Linked DNA regions of Homo sapiens: regions 2, 3 and 4 are each linked to region 1. Evidence: promoter capture Hi-C in 16 types of primary human blood cells and fetal thymus (Javierre and others, 2016). All regions are on one chromosome and are shown on one strand. Each heading gives the region's core, a stretch centred on a gene start or on the middle of the fragment in contact. The rest is flanking DNA. Distances are from core to core; before and after follow the strand shown. Region 1 holds the start of CSDE1 (cold shock domain containing E1). Region 2 holds the start of RHOC (ras homolog family member C). Region 3 overlaps ST7L (suppression of tumorigenicity 7 like). Region 4 holds the start of TTF2 (transcription termination factor 2).

What was found. Contacts are between HindIII fragments. The CHiCAGO score rates a contact against its expected background, and 5 or more counts as called.
Region 2: a contact is called between the fragment with the promoter of RHOC here and the fragment with the promoter of CSDE1 in region 1, in 1 of 17 cell types (non-activated CD4 T cells). The highest score is 5.3, in non-activated CD4 T cells.
Region 3: a fragment that was not itself captured here is called in contact with the fragment with the promoter of CSDE1 in region 1 in 1 of 17 cell types (monocytes); the score reaches 6.7 in monocytes.
Region 4: a contact is called between the fragment with the promoter of TTF2 here and the fragment with the promoter of CSDE1 in region 1, in 2 of 17 cell types (neutrophils and fetal thymus). The highest score is 7.3, in neutrophils.

Annotation. Positions count from the first base shown.
Region 1 is chr1:114,756,722-114,759,952 of GRCh38, reverse strand. It overlaps CSDE1 (cold shock domain containing E1), which reads left to right and starts at 1,969. Exons shown (of 20, transcript NM_001007553.3): 1 at 1,969-2,028. RefSeq lists enhancers at 1,763-2,052, 1,424-2,417, 2,253-2,572. The HindIII fragment of the contact is 3,696 bases long and covers 585-3,231 here.
Region 2 is chr1:112,705,119-112,708,464 of GRCh38, reverse strand. It overlaps RHOC (ras homolog family member C), which reads left to right and starts at 1,338. Exons shown (of 6, transcript NM_175744.5): 1 at 1,338-1,387; 2 at 3,297-3,346. RefSeq lists a silencer at 899-1,618 and an enhancer at 2,878-2,927. The HindIII fragment of the contact is 12,151 bases long and covers 1-3,346 here.
Region 3 is chr1:112,613,939-112,617,543 of GRCh38, reverse strand. ST7L (suppression of tumorigenicity 7 like) reads left to right here. Exons shown (of 15, transcript NM_017744.5): 2 at 649-731. Among named protein-coding and RNA genes, the nearest start is that of ST7L, 3.4 kb to the left of the region's middle. The HindIII fragment of the contact is 5,337 bases long and covers 1-3,605 here.
Region 4 is chr1:117,058,420-117,061,878 of GRCh38, reverse strand. It overlaps TTF2 (transcription termination factor 2), which reads right to left and starts at 1,553. Exons shown (of 23, transcript NM_003594.4): 1 at 1,505-1,553; 2 at 1,322-1,424. The coding sequence starts at 1,532. CD101-AS1 (CD101 antisense RNA 1) reads left to right here and starts at 2,389. Exons shown (of 4, transcript NR_110786.1): 1 at 2,389-2,506. RefSeq lists an enhancer at 1,853-2,012 and a silencer at 2,433-2,482. The HindIII fragment of the contact is 4,450 bases long and covers 1-1,837 here.

The sequences.
Region 1 (3,231 bases), core at 720-3,219:
GGAAGGGGAGATCTCGATTTAAGAACTGGGTGAATTAAACAAAACAGCTGGTTTGAAATATTTACATTCTGGGCCAGGCGTGGTGGCTCATGCCTGCAATCCCAGCACTTTGGTAGGCCGAGGTGGGCGGATCACCTGAGGTAAGGAGTTGGAGACCAGCCTGACCAACATGGAGAAACTCTGTCTCTACTAAAAATACAAAATTAGGTCGGGTGCGGTGGCTCATGCCTGTAATCCCAGCACTTTGGGAGGCTGAGGCGGGTGGATCACGACATCTGGAGTTCGAGACCAGCCTGGCCAACATGGTGAAACCCTGTCTCTACCAAAAATACAAAAATTAGCCGGGTGTGGTGGTGCACGCCTGTAATCCCACCTACTCAGGAGGCTGAGGCAGGAGAATTGCTTGAACCCGGGAGGCGGAGGTTGCAGTGAGCTGAGATCATGCCATTGCACTCCAGCCTAGGCAACACGAGTGAACTCCATCTGAAAAAAAAAAAAATTTACATTCTGTAGTTTCCCAGAAATATATTCCAATTTCTAACAACTTATCATACTGTTGTCCAGTGCTATTTATTCAACAAGCTTTTGAGAGTTGTTGAGAGCGGGCACTGTCAACAACCAGGGATGCAAAGATGAATTTCATAAGCTCTGTGCTAGAGTATTACTACCTAGTAAAAACTAATAATTACAATAGAGTGAGCTATGAAAGCATTGAAAATGAAGCAAATATTTGTGCTTAGGAAAGCGTGGGAAGGCATCAAAGAGAGCAAAAAGGCAGTTTTGAGGTGTTATACATGGGACTGGACACCAGCAACAAAGGTGGTGAGGAAATTTTTGAACAGAAATGGGACACGGCCTCCTCTTAGAATTCAAGAGGTTGAATTGAAGGTTGTCTTTCCTTCATTGCACTTATTCCAATGTGTATGTTTAGATTTGTTTTTGTGATCATCAATGATGCTAGACTAAAAGTTCCTTGAGGACAAGTCTATATCCGATTTTCTTTACAACTGTATACTTCCCAGTGGTTACACATACAACATGTCAAATAAATGTGTTGTAAGCAAAAAGTGGGTAGGAGAGTTCTCAGAAGACTGGCTGCTCATTATTTATCCAATACTGTCAAGTGAGAGAGCCAGTGAATCTGTGAAAACAGAAGCATTGAATCTGGGAAAAGCATTCCTCTCACCAGAGGAGCATGCTCTACTGTCTGGCAGGGGATAATCCATTGAACTTCCTGTGGTCATAATTACCCATTTTTCTCCTTCCTTCTTCCCCCATTGGATGAATCATCTCTTTGCTCTTATTTCAACCTTTTAATTACTGATCCACCCTCTTTGATTACCTGACACAACAGGAATATCTTTCGTAACTTGAAAGGTCAGTTGACTGAATTTGTTTCATTTTGTTTAGTGATTATGCAGCCTTGCTCACTCTTGTGCATCTGTTGCAATGTTTTTCGTGGAAAACAAAGGTCTCATTTAGATTTCTAAATTACCTTGCTACAAAGCTGACTCTATACTAATGAAATTCCTCTAAAACAGTAGACGTAAGAAAGAATGCTTGCACTATAAGAAGAAACGAGTGTGAGGTCCTTCCGGATTTTTGCTGGGAAAAGATAAATCATTTTTTATGACTCCTGAATATGCCATCAGAATTGTTGGCCTTCAAGGTTTACCCCATTATTGTGGGCTAAAACGTATTCAAACGCTCGAAGACTAGAGACGCCTAAAGCCACCCGCCACCCCTAGTGTCCAGGAGGAGTCAGTAAACACCGAGATTGCTTCCCGCAGCACACCCAAGAAGGAATGTAATGTAATGCAGCCACCATGTTGGTTGTGGTTAAGTGCAGCAAACTGCTTGGCGTCACTTAGCCCTGCTGCGCAAGCGTGTTGAGAGTACGCTTCACTCCGCCCCTTCTCGTGCACGCGCCCGGAGCCCGCAACTCTCGCGAGAGAAGCGAGATTTATTCCTACGTACCGGGCCGTGCTGCTTATGGCGGCGCTGGAGAGGGGGCGCTGAGCTGTTGGGGTGAGTACGACCTCAGGGTCCAACTGGGGGTAGCAGAAACCCAGGGGAAGGGCTGAGAATAAGACCAAGGCTAACGAGAAGCCTTCTGAGTCAAGGTGGGCACTCGTAGAGCTCTAGGTGGGGAAGAATGCACCCCGATTCCCTGCCCTGGGCTTTTTCATACGTCTCCCGTTCAACTGCCTGGGCCTCATGTCAGGTCGCAGAGCTGAAACGAGGAGTTGAGGCCAGCCGGCTGCGCGTGGTGGTAGTGGTGGTGGTGACTAAAGTGGGGGGAGGGAGCGAAAATGGAGGCTCCGACAGCAGCCAAGATGGAGGCAGAGGGTGCGGGGCTCGGGCGCGGAGGCTGCTGGGATCTGTAGTCTGGCTGCTTCCCCATCTGCGGCTTGTCTGGGGAAACGGGAACTACATGTCCCGGCGGGCGGGGCGAGGGGGTGGTGGCGCGGTCCTTTGTGTGAGGTTGGAAGAGCCTGAGACCGAGAAGAGGGGCCTACTTTGACTCTGGACCCTGTAGTTTCCTGGCCGTTACCTGCTTGGGAATCTGACTACCAGTACCAGAGCGCAGTGCGGCAGTGGCGCCTTCTTTGTGTATAGACTGAGACCCTGCTCCATCTAGATATCTTAGGGGAAGTGTTTAAAGACACCTTTCCCCAGCCACATCTGGCACAGTAGTGTGGCGGAATTGACATCGTTACTCCAGTCACCTAGAGCAGGGTCTCAGCACCCAACCTTCCCCTCATTGTCTCCCCTTCGGCGTCTTGAGAAAGGGAACCAGTCCCTAATCTTTTAGGCACGTGGCTCCCACCCCTCTATCTTGGGGAATGGGCGTGCGCCCTGAAAGCTCAGTAGTGTCCTCCCTTCCACCTCCTGTAGTTCTCATGGTGCCAGCGCCTGGCCCACCCACATTGTGCAATGAACGGCCTGGCTTCGTCATTCTATGTAGAATGTTTTAGAGTTCCCCCGTCGGAGACAGCTTCAAATTTTTGCCATGCTATTTTATCAATACGAAATCTTAGTGCCAAGGTTCTTTTGCTTTAAGGTTTTCCCTTAGAAACACCCAGATGGCGGCCGTCTTGCTTAACTCACAGGTGAAGCAGAGAACGCTCCCTGAAACAGGCTTGAATCTGCAAAGAATATCTGAACGTTGTTGGGCAAGTTAATTTTCGTGTTTTGCACCTTAAATGAGTAAAAGAATATGGCGCTCTT
Region 2 (3,346 bases), core at 89-2,588, 2.1 Mb after region 1:
GTGGACCCAGGTCCATGTAATATGGATTCAATAAATGTTAGCTATCTTGAAATTGCATTCCTCATTTAGACTCTAAGTTGTTTGAAGGCAGAAATGGATCTTCCGAACATAGCTCTCAGTTCACCCTCGAGAAATGTTCATTGAGTCAGTTAAGAGGCCTGGGGCCAAACTGCTGCGGACCTGTTTTCACATTTGTCAAATGTCTGGATTGCACTTCAGATATTTAAAGTCTGTATGACTCCTAACATTCATTCATTCATCAAATATTTGTTGACAACCTATTATGTGCCACTCACTCTGCTAGACAACGGGGGAAGGGACAGGCTGGAGGAGCCCGTGAGGTAGCAGGGCCAGACCACCAGTTTGGAGCCAGACAGGCCCGGCTGTGTGAATTCTTGCTGTCACAAGTCAAAAACAGTTGTGTAAGCCACTTGATTTCTCTGAACCTCAGCTTCTCTATGGGCAAAAGGGGATGGGTATATTTTCCCCAGAGATCTGTGATGAATATTGAAAGGGTTAAGCTGTGTAGTGTCCCAAGCACAAGCCAATGAAATGTTGGTGGACGTCCTCATTCTACTCCCACCTCCTCAGCTCCCTTACAGGGAAAGGAGATACGCGTGTAGGTAAATATCCTATGCGCCAAGTCAGACCTAGGAGTGGGAACAGAATTCACAGCTGGGATCCAGAAGCATTTCTAGGCGCACCCTTTGAGGAGTAGGTAGGAATTGGACTCCTGGAAATTCCAGGCCCAGGGAAGAAAGCGAATTGTGAGGAGGAACGGTGGTCTGGGTCTGAACGGCTCTGAGAGGTCTTCAAGTTTGGGGGATGACGTTGGGCTGTACGATCCTAGGAACAAGAGGGTGGACATCTCCCCCCAACCAACACACCCGCGCCGGGCCCTGGGACCTCCCGGCGGATACCCTTTCCCAGTCCCGCTTCCCGCGAGGTCCCAGGTGCAGCAGGAGCGGGTGGCCGCTTGGCCACAGGAGGGCAGCAGCGGCCCTTCCTGACCCCACCCCGAGCACCTCTTAACTTTCCCGACGCCGGTCCTCCCCTAGGGGATTGAAGGCTGGGCAGAGTCTGAGTCCACCCGGGTCGTGCTCCCCCCGCTCGCCCGGCTCCTCCGCAGTCCAGGAATCTCCCCGTGGCTCTCCCCGACCTGGAGGGGTGGACGCCCCTGGCCCCCAGTCCCCGGCCTGCGGAGGGGGCCGGTGGCTGCGGCCCTGCGCGGGGCCGGGGCGGGCCGAGCCAAGGGCCGCCCCCGGCCGACCCTCCCCCTGCCGGGCCCGCCCTCCCCGCCGCGGCGCTGGAGGAGGGCGGGGCGGGGCCCTGGGGTCAGTCTGAGCCTCCGGCACCGGCCGCGCAGCTGGAGGCGGCGGAGCGGAAGGTACCCTGGGCCGGGGCTGCGGGCGGTGGGGCGTCTTGGGAACTCGTCCCCAGGAGAGCACTTTCCCTTCCTCGCTGGCCCGGAGATCGGGGCCCGTGCGAGGAGGGGCTTCGGCCTGGGCGTGGACCCCGTTCCCTCCAAGCGGAGTCGGCATCCGGGCTGGGCGGTGGTCGGACCGCGTCGGCCCCTCCCCGGGCTGCAGCGAGGGGGCCCGGACCTGCCGGCAGGGGCTCTGGCCTCCTGAGGTCCGAGTCGGAGCCCCTTCCCTTCTCCTCCCAGCTTCCCGGAACCTGCCCCGCCGGGCGAGGGGCGAGGGAACTTCAACTCAGACGCCCCAGCCCCCAGGGTGGGCGGCCGCAGGGGACCTAGAGTGGGATGGGGTGGGAATTCCTCCAGGCCAGGAGGGAGGTATGGCGGGAATAGGGGCGGGATGTGACCATTGGGGCCTGCCACTGCTCGGCAGGGTCTGGACGCCGCCCTGGACGGTTCCTGGAGCCCGCTTGTGTTGAGGATAAGGGAGATGGGGAAGGATCCAACTCTGTGTGTGTGTGTGTGTGTGTGTGTGTGTGTGTGTGTGTGTGTGTGTGTGTGTGTGTGTGTGTGTGTGTGTGTGGTGTGTGTGTGTGTGTGTGTGTGTGTGTGTGTGTAGAGAGAGAGAGAGAGAGAGAAAATGAGATTGAGAATCCTCCTTCTTCATACTCGAACCAAGAAAGAGTATCCTGGGGTTTGGGACTGGGATCCCGAGGCCGAGTCCCGCCCTCACTCTGGTTTTAAAGTTGAGAATGCAGTATCTCTTGGTATCTCCAGAACGGATTCCTTCCCTAGGTGTAGGGTGGGCCGGCAAAGTCAACCGGCCGCTCTGGATCATCTGGGAATTCAAGAGAGCGATTGGAGAGAGGTCTGATGTAGCCACACTGTCTTGTCTTGGGGAAGGCCCCAGAAGTTCCAGGCTCCATTCCAGGCCCTGTGTGGGGCTCAGTTGCCCCTCTTAAGGGGTCAGTGGGACAGTCCCTCTGGGGCTGCCTCTCACAGGGAGTTGTCCATGCCATCTTGGCCTTGGGCCTAGTGTCCTGGCCTGGGCTGCCTGCTGTTCTGGCCCAATCATAGCCTGGAGGGAAAGTCTTCTAATTGGGCTGGAGGCTCCAGGTCCCTTAACGCATGCCTCAACCCCGGGTTTCTGTCCTCTGCCTCCCACCACTCTGGTGCCGTCTGAATTACCCTGCTGGGGGGACAGCAGTGGCATACTCATGCCTAAGTGACTGGCTTTCACCCCAGTAGTGATTGCCCTCCATCAACACTGCCCACCCCAGGTTGGGGCTACCCCAGCCCATCTTTACAAAACAGGGCAAGGTGAACTAATGGAGTGGGTGGAGGAGTTGGAAGAAATCCCAGCGTCAGTCACCGGGATAGAATTCCCAAGGAACCCTCTTTTTGGAGGATGGTTTCCATTTCTGGAGGCGATCTGCCGACAGGGTGAATGCCTTCTTGCTTGTCTTCTGGGGAATCAGAGAGAGTCCGTTTTGTGGTGGGAAGAGTGTGGCTGTGTACTTTGAACTCCTGTAAATTCTCTGACTCATGTCCACAAAACCAACAGTTTTGTGAATGTGTCTGGAGGCAAGGGAAGGGCCACTCAGGATCTATGTTGAAGGGAAGAGGCCTGGGGCTGGAGTATTCGCTTCCTAAAGGGCAGTGTGAGGTGGTGGTGGGGTGTGGGGAGTAGAGGCGTTCAGTCAGCCCAGTTTGACAGGATGTGGGACTGAGAGAAAAAGCTAGGTTTGAGGCTGAGATCAGGTTACCGTCGCTTTCTTAACTGCTCCCTGCCTGGTTGGTGCTGGGACTGGCCCTCATTTGTCTCTTCTTTTGGGGCTCCTCCCAGCCCAGACTCTAGCCCCCTCCCCCTTCCCAACAGCCTTGACTTCATCTCAGCTCCAGAGCCCGCCCTCTCTTCCTGCAGCCTGG
Region 3 (3,605 bases), core at 327-2,826, 2.1 Mb after region 1:
GACTGGGTCTATTTTATTTGCCCAGGCTGGTCTTGAACTTCTGGCTACCAGTGATCCTCCTGCCTTGGCCTCCCAAAACTCTGAGATTATGGGAGTGAGCCATCCTACCTGGCCAGATTTTTATTTTCTTTCTAAAACCCACAGTACTTATGAGATAATTATTTGAAGTGAAAAATCTGCTCCAGGATTTCAGTAACTCAGGGAGATTTCTGTTTGTTGCTTTTCTCTTTGAGCCATTTTGCCTCTCTAGCTGATATACCAAATACATATGCTGTTTCCTTCCCTCTAATTTGAGACAGTGGTTTTGTATCCTACCAAAATAAATATGGAGTAGTTTTGAACCTCCTTTGTAAAAGCATATTTATCTTTTTATTCTTACAGACTTGCAAAAGTTCTATCTAAATTATGACTTATAAGTGCTTTAGTTTTATTCTCCAAAGCAAGCTGAATTACCTCATTTTGATTTGTTGCAAATAGTGATAAGCCATTATGTATAATATATATACAAATTAAAACTTTTTCAAGTGAATTTCACACTAGATATTAATACTACTTAAGTCCCACCACTCATAAAGATACTTGCATATTTGTAACCTAAGTACTTTAAATTTGCATTTTTTAAAACTTTGATTCTTGTTCTTTTGACAGTGACTGTATTTTTAAATTCATTGACACCCAAATTCTATGTGGCACTTACAGGGACCTCTTCATTGATATCAGGACTAATATTTGTAAGTAGTTTCCATTTCCTTCCTTCATGTTTTGGTGTTTATCTAAAGATATTTTTTTTTTTTCTTTTTTGAGACAGAGTCTTGCTCTGTCGCCCAGGCTGGAGTGCAGTGGCATGATCTCGGCTCACTGCAACTTCCGCCTTCCAGGTTCCAGCAATTCTTCTGTCTCAGCCTCCCGAGTAGCTGGGATTACAGGTGCCGGCCACCATGCCCGGATAATTTTTGTATTTTTAGTAGAGATGGCATTTCACCATATTGGTCAGGCTGGTCTCCAACTCCTGACCTCAGGTGATCCGCCTGCCTTGTCCTCCCAAAGTGCTGGGATTACAGGCGTGAGGCACCGCCCTGGCCTAAAGATCCTTTATATGGTTATAATAATTATAAATTATTATTACCTATGGATTAGCATTTCCAAAATGTATTCAGCATTTGAAAAGAGTTACCTATTCAAACAAGTTTGGGGAACACTGCATCTCCCAATCTACTTTTAAGAGATTGACAGTATTTATTTACATATTAAAGGCTTATTGTAAACTGTAGTCAGGGAGGGCTTGGGGTGTGTTGGAAATTAAATGCCTGCAGAGCCCAAGTTGGTAACAAAAATGAGTGAAATGGATAGAGTTTAATAATTAAATTCTTATTTCTTTGAGGACTGGGTAGCCTGGACAGTGCATGCCCCTTCTAAAAGAGGCTAAAGCTAATTGTTGCCATATAGACTTGGAACTAGTATTACCAGGTTTTTCAATTTTTCAAATGATTTAAAGAGAACCCAGACAGGCCGGACGTGGTGGCTAACACCTATAATCCCAGCACTTTGGGAGCCTGAAGCAGGCAGATCACTTGAGGCCAGGAGTTCAAGAACAGCCTGGCCAACATGATGAAACTCCGTCTACTAAAATACAAAAAATAACTGGGTATGGTGGTATGTGCCTGTAGTCCCAGCTACTCGGAAGGCTGAGGCATAAGAATCTCTTGAACTTGGGAGGTGGAGGTTACAGTGAACCAAGATCTTGCCACTGCACTCCAGCCTGGGCGACAGAGAGAAACCCTTTCTCAAAAATGAATGAATAAATAAGTAGAACCTGGACATACAGTTTTTATATAAAATTTGCCCATTAAAAAAAAATTGAGATGGAGTCTCACTACGTTGCCCAGGCCAGAGTACAGTCGATATTCACAGGCACCATTATAGCACACTGTGGCCTTAACTCCTGGGCTCAAGCCATCCTCCCGTCTCAGCCTCCCTAGTAGCTGGGATTACAGGCATGTGCCACCATGTCTGACTACAGCATTTTAATATTGGCAACATTGGGAAGACTAAAATTTATGTGTCATGAATTCAACTTACAGTTTTTTCAAGCCCCAGTTTCCTCATCTGTTAACTGGCAGTTAATAGCATGAACTTTATAGGATTATGAAGAGTAAATCAGATAATGTTGTAAGTTTATAACATGATAGCTGGTTCAGAATGTACACTTAATGAATTTTGGCCATTATTCTGAGAATTCTCACAATTAAGAAACCTGTTTGGCCTGATACAGTGGTTCATACCTGTAATCCTAGCACTTTGGGAGACCGAGGTGGGGTGATAGAGTTCGAGACCAGCCTGGGAAACATGGAAAAACCCTGTCTCTTCAAAAAAATACAAAAATTAGGCGTGTGTGGCGCACCTATAGTCCCAGCTACTGGAGAGGCCAAGGTGGGAGGATCACTTGAACCCTGGAGGGAGAGGTTACAGTGAGCCAAGATGGTGCCACTGCACTCTAACCTGAGTGACAGAGCAAGACTCTGTTTCAAAAAACAAAAACAACAAAACTGTTTAACTTTAATTCAACTTTTCCTTGAAGAAGATATTTTTAATTTAAAAAAAATAAAATATTTTTTATAATTCACGTTAACATCCCTAGGATGTCATGTTTACTAGTGTACACTTTGGAACAATACTGCTGCAGATAAAAATCTTAAGAAGTTTTATGCCATGCATAGCCAATAAATTTTTCTCTTCCCTTTAAATTTTTATTTATTTTTTGTAGAGACAGAGTCTCACTGTGTTGTTCAGGGTAGTCTCAGACGCTTGGGCATAAACGATCCATTCTCCTCGGCCTCCCAAAGTGCTAAGGTTCCAGGCGTGAACCACCATGCCCAGCCTGTTCTTTTTTTTATCTCTAGGTGGTGCTCTCCAGCTGTAGTAGAAATAGCATTTGTATTGGATCTATTTTTTTAAATAGGGACTAAATACAGACCATTTTGTTAAAGTGAAATGCCAAACAAGAACGAGATTTTTCTCTTGGCTAAAAAAAATAGAAGCTATTGAGGAATTCAGGATTAAAACTACATGTTAATATAAGCCTCATAATTTAACATAAGCATATTTTAGCATGTTTAGTCCATAGCATACAAAAGTCTAAGTAAAGACGATAAACTGTCTTTAAGCCAGGCACGGTGGCTTACACCTGTAATCCCAACACTTTGGGAGGATGGAGTGGGAGAATCCCTTAATGCCAGAAGTTTGAGACCAGCCTGGGCAACAACAAGACCCTGTCTCTATTTAATATGGTTTTTGTTTGTTTGTTTTAAAGAAACTATCAATATTAAGCAGCTGATATAGTGGAAAAAGCTCTGGTTTGGGAACCAGAAGATAAAATTTTGAATCTTAACTCTGCCACTTACTAGCTGATAATTTTGGGCAAGCTACATAAACTGTCTAAGCTATAATTTCCTCATTTATAAGAGGGGGATAACTTATATATATGATGTCTAAAACCTTGTAAAAAACTTTTTGTGGCCAGGTGTGGTGTCTCGTGTCTGTACTGCCAACACTGTGGGAGGCTGAGGCAGGAGGATTGCTTGTGGCCAGGAGTTCAAGAGCAGCCT
Region 4 (3,459 bases), core at 304-2,803, 2.3 Mb before region 1:
TTTGAGTGAAGGTTTAAAGTACTCTCCTAAACCTGTGGCACTTTTTTTGGCCTGTATATTGGTTATCAGATATAGTCCAAATAAATCAAGTTTATCAAATAATTGTCTTCAAATACCACTGTGCTAGTTTGTATAGCAAAGCATTTGTGTAGATGGGATCCTAAATAAGAGTGTTTCTCTTAATGTAAAACCAAATCTTATGCCACCATTAATGTTGAATTCCTGCAAAGGTAAAAATGCTTCTATCTCACAAAACTTGACCTGGGTACTATATCTGAGAGGCTCAGTGTAAATCATCTAACTCATGAAACAGAAACATGGGAAGTTAGTATACATGTTGAAAGGGCACTTTTCTAATACTGATATCCATTATGTACTCTACATCTGACACGGAGAAAAATAACTTTTCTCTACCAAGTTTTGCTGAATAGAGAGCAGGAGATGTTTAATGATGTGATGATAGTTTTAAAATTCACATAGAAAATGTAGACACTTGGTACTGTGAAAACATTAACACTTGACAAACTATTAACTTTCCTCACTTTAGAGAAGATGCTTAACATTTCTGACTCTCTCCTCCCACCTCAGCCTCACGAGTAGCTGGGACTACAGGCGTGTGATACCATGCCTAGACAATTTTTTTTAATTTTTCGTAGAGACGGGATTTCACCATGTTGCCCAGGCTGGTTTCGAACCCCTGGGCTCAAGCGATTCGCTCGCCTTCGCCTCCCAAAGTGCTGGGATTACAGGCGTCACACACCGCGCCAGGCCCTCCGTTGTTTCTTCCAGCGCTAATTTCTTTGAATTATCAATTTCACCATTTAGATGCAGAGAATCCTACTTAAAAATAAGAAGGCTAACAACTAATCACTAGAGTGTTTTAAGCTCAAACATTTAAAAAAAACCGTCGGGCCTAAAACTAGTGCAAAACAGGGACAAATTATTTTCCACTATGTCTGCTGTGTGTCCTTACTCCTTTAAAGGGGGAGGGACTGTCTGGGCAGGAGAAGGGAGTGGTTAAGGCCTGTCAAGTGAATAGAAACCCAGAGCTGGAAAACACCGGATCCTCAATTTTACAGGTAGGGGAACCATCGGCCCAGAGAGGGGGGTAACCAGCCTCGGGTCACACAGCCAGAATTAGCTGGGCGTCTTCCGAACACGCCACGCTGCCCTGGGATCACCAATTGCTTAAAGGGTCCTGACACCGCAAACTAGGGCCCCACCACTCCTCGGCCCTGTGACGCCCGACAGCGGGGAGCGGGAAGCTCCTCTCGGGAGGCCCCGGGCAGCCACAGGGAGTGGGGCCCAGCTCCAGACCTACTCGGTGGCCCGCACGAAGCTGCACGTGTCTGCCCGGCACACGTAGAAGCTCTTTCCTTTATTCGGGCCATCGCGGACGCCGGTCTTAAGAAAGCAGAAAGTCCCTGAAGAGAGAAGAAAGTGAACAACGATTACGCCACGCTAAATCAACAGGCCCCGGGACGCTGAGACCCTAGCCCCTTACCGTGCTCTGGACACCTAACTTCTTCCATTTCGCTGGGTCCCCCAAGTTCCACAAAGCCCCGCCCCCAATTCTGCTTCCGCCTTTTACTCCGCCCTCTTTGTTCAGGAACCAACCATCACTCAGCTCTTGCAGTCTTAATCCCTCCCATAATTCTCCGCCCTTGGCCTTCACCCGTCCTAGCCGCTATCAGCCAATCATATAGGAACTTCGCTCACCTCCAACCAATCACAGCTGCCCTCAGGTATGGCGCGCGCCGAAATCAAATACGGAGCCAGGGGGCGTAAAGGACCCGGCTTTTGCAGGCTGGGGCGTGGCTGAGGCTGGGGAGAAGCTTAGAAGGTGGCGGGGCTTCTGGAGGAAAAGAAGCTTCGATTTGCAGGTCTTGGAAGACGGAAGGGCAACTCTTGTTTACGTTTAAAACCGAGAGGCGGCCCTAGGGGTAGCGCCAGTTAGCAGGCGCTGAAAGGCCCTGGCTTCGTGGGTGTCTCTGAGCCAGGCTGGCGCTCGTGCGCGCTGGGCTCCGCGCTCAGTCGCTGGGGTGGGAGGCCAGGGGAAGCCGCCGCTGCAGGCCGAGCCGCGAGATTTGCAGTGCAGGAGCCGAAGCGGCGGGCATGGTGGGAGGTCCTTGGAAGCTGCTGCGGGGAACTGAAACGGCTCTGATAGGCAGGCACAAAGACTTCTCTAGGACCCCCTACAATGCTTTACGTTTGCCTCGTGCTTTAGATTTCACAAAGTGCTTACACATAACACGACCCTCCTCACTCGACCTGGTGAGATGGGTAGCATTTTGTGGAAGATTCCGAGACTCAAGTTTGAGAGACTCACCCAAGGTCAGAGTTGGCGAGTGGGCGGTCCGTGGACAGGTGCGCAGGTCTCAGCGCCATTTGGCCCGCGCTGCTGCTTCCTGTGTGTACTGGATGTTCTCTAGGCTCGCCCAGCGTGGAAGCCCCGAGTTACCAGCCGCAACGTGGAAACCACAGAAGGGGAAATAGATGACTTTTGGTGAAGGCGAATTTTACTTTATCATTTTGTATTGTCAAACTTTTTTTTACTATTATGCTTTTGTAATTTTAAAAATCGAAGACGAGGTTAAATAGAAGAAAGGGGACAGTTCCCTTCTATTTAACTTCATCCTCGATTTTTAAAATTTGAAGTTGTAATCAAAACTATTAGTAAACAGAGAGGAATAGATATTAGATTTATTGCAATAGAAATAGTTTCATATTGCAGCTATTGAGGACCATATGTCCCAGACATATGGTGTGGCACCTGCACTGTTCTTATGGGGGCCGTAGAACAGAAAATCTGTAATGTCTAGGAAATCTGGGCGATGTGATAAATGTACATGTTATGGGGATCCGGAGGAAGGGAGACAAACCTGAGGTATCATTTATTAATTAAACAGTACTTACTAAATAGCTTTTTTGTGCCCGTTGTGGACTAGGTGCTTGAGAAATGTAAAATTCATTCATTCACACACACAAAGTTTGAAACAACTATTCTAAGCACAAGGAACTTACTCAGTATTTTGAGGAGACTGAACTAGTACATGTTGAACACTTAAATAACAATATAAAATAGTATTTAAATGTCAAAATGAATGGAGTTAGCAGTAACTCTCTAGGACTAGAGAAAAATGGAATTTCCAAAGTGAAGTTCCTTTATACATAACTACCCTTCCGAAACTTAGATGAACTTAGAGATAAGACAGGAACAACAAATAGGTAGAAGCATTTTCATTATTCCAAGATTGTTATTCTTGCAAATGATGTATTTGTACATGTTTAATAGATGCTGTATTGGAGGTAGTATACCATGAATACAGGATTTGCAGAAAGAGGGGCATGGTAATTAATTATTTCTTGAATAATTTTCGAAACAAGGCAAAATCGGGGCCTCTTAAATATCCCGTTAAGGAAGAAGCTCCTCCTCTGCAAGTACCCAAGTCGGTATCT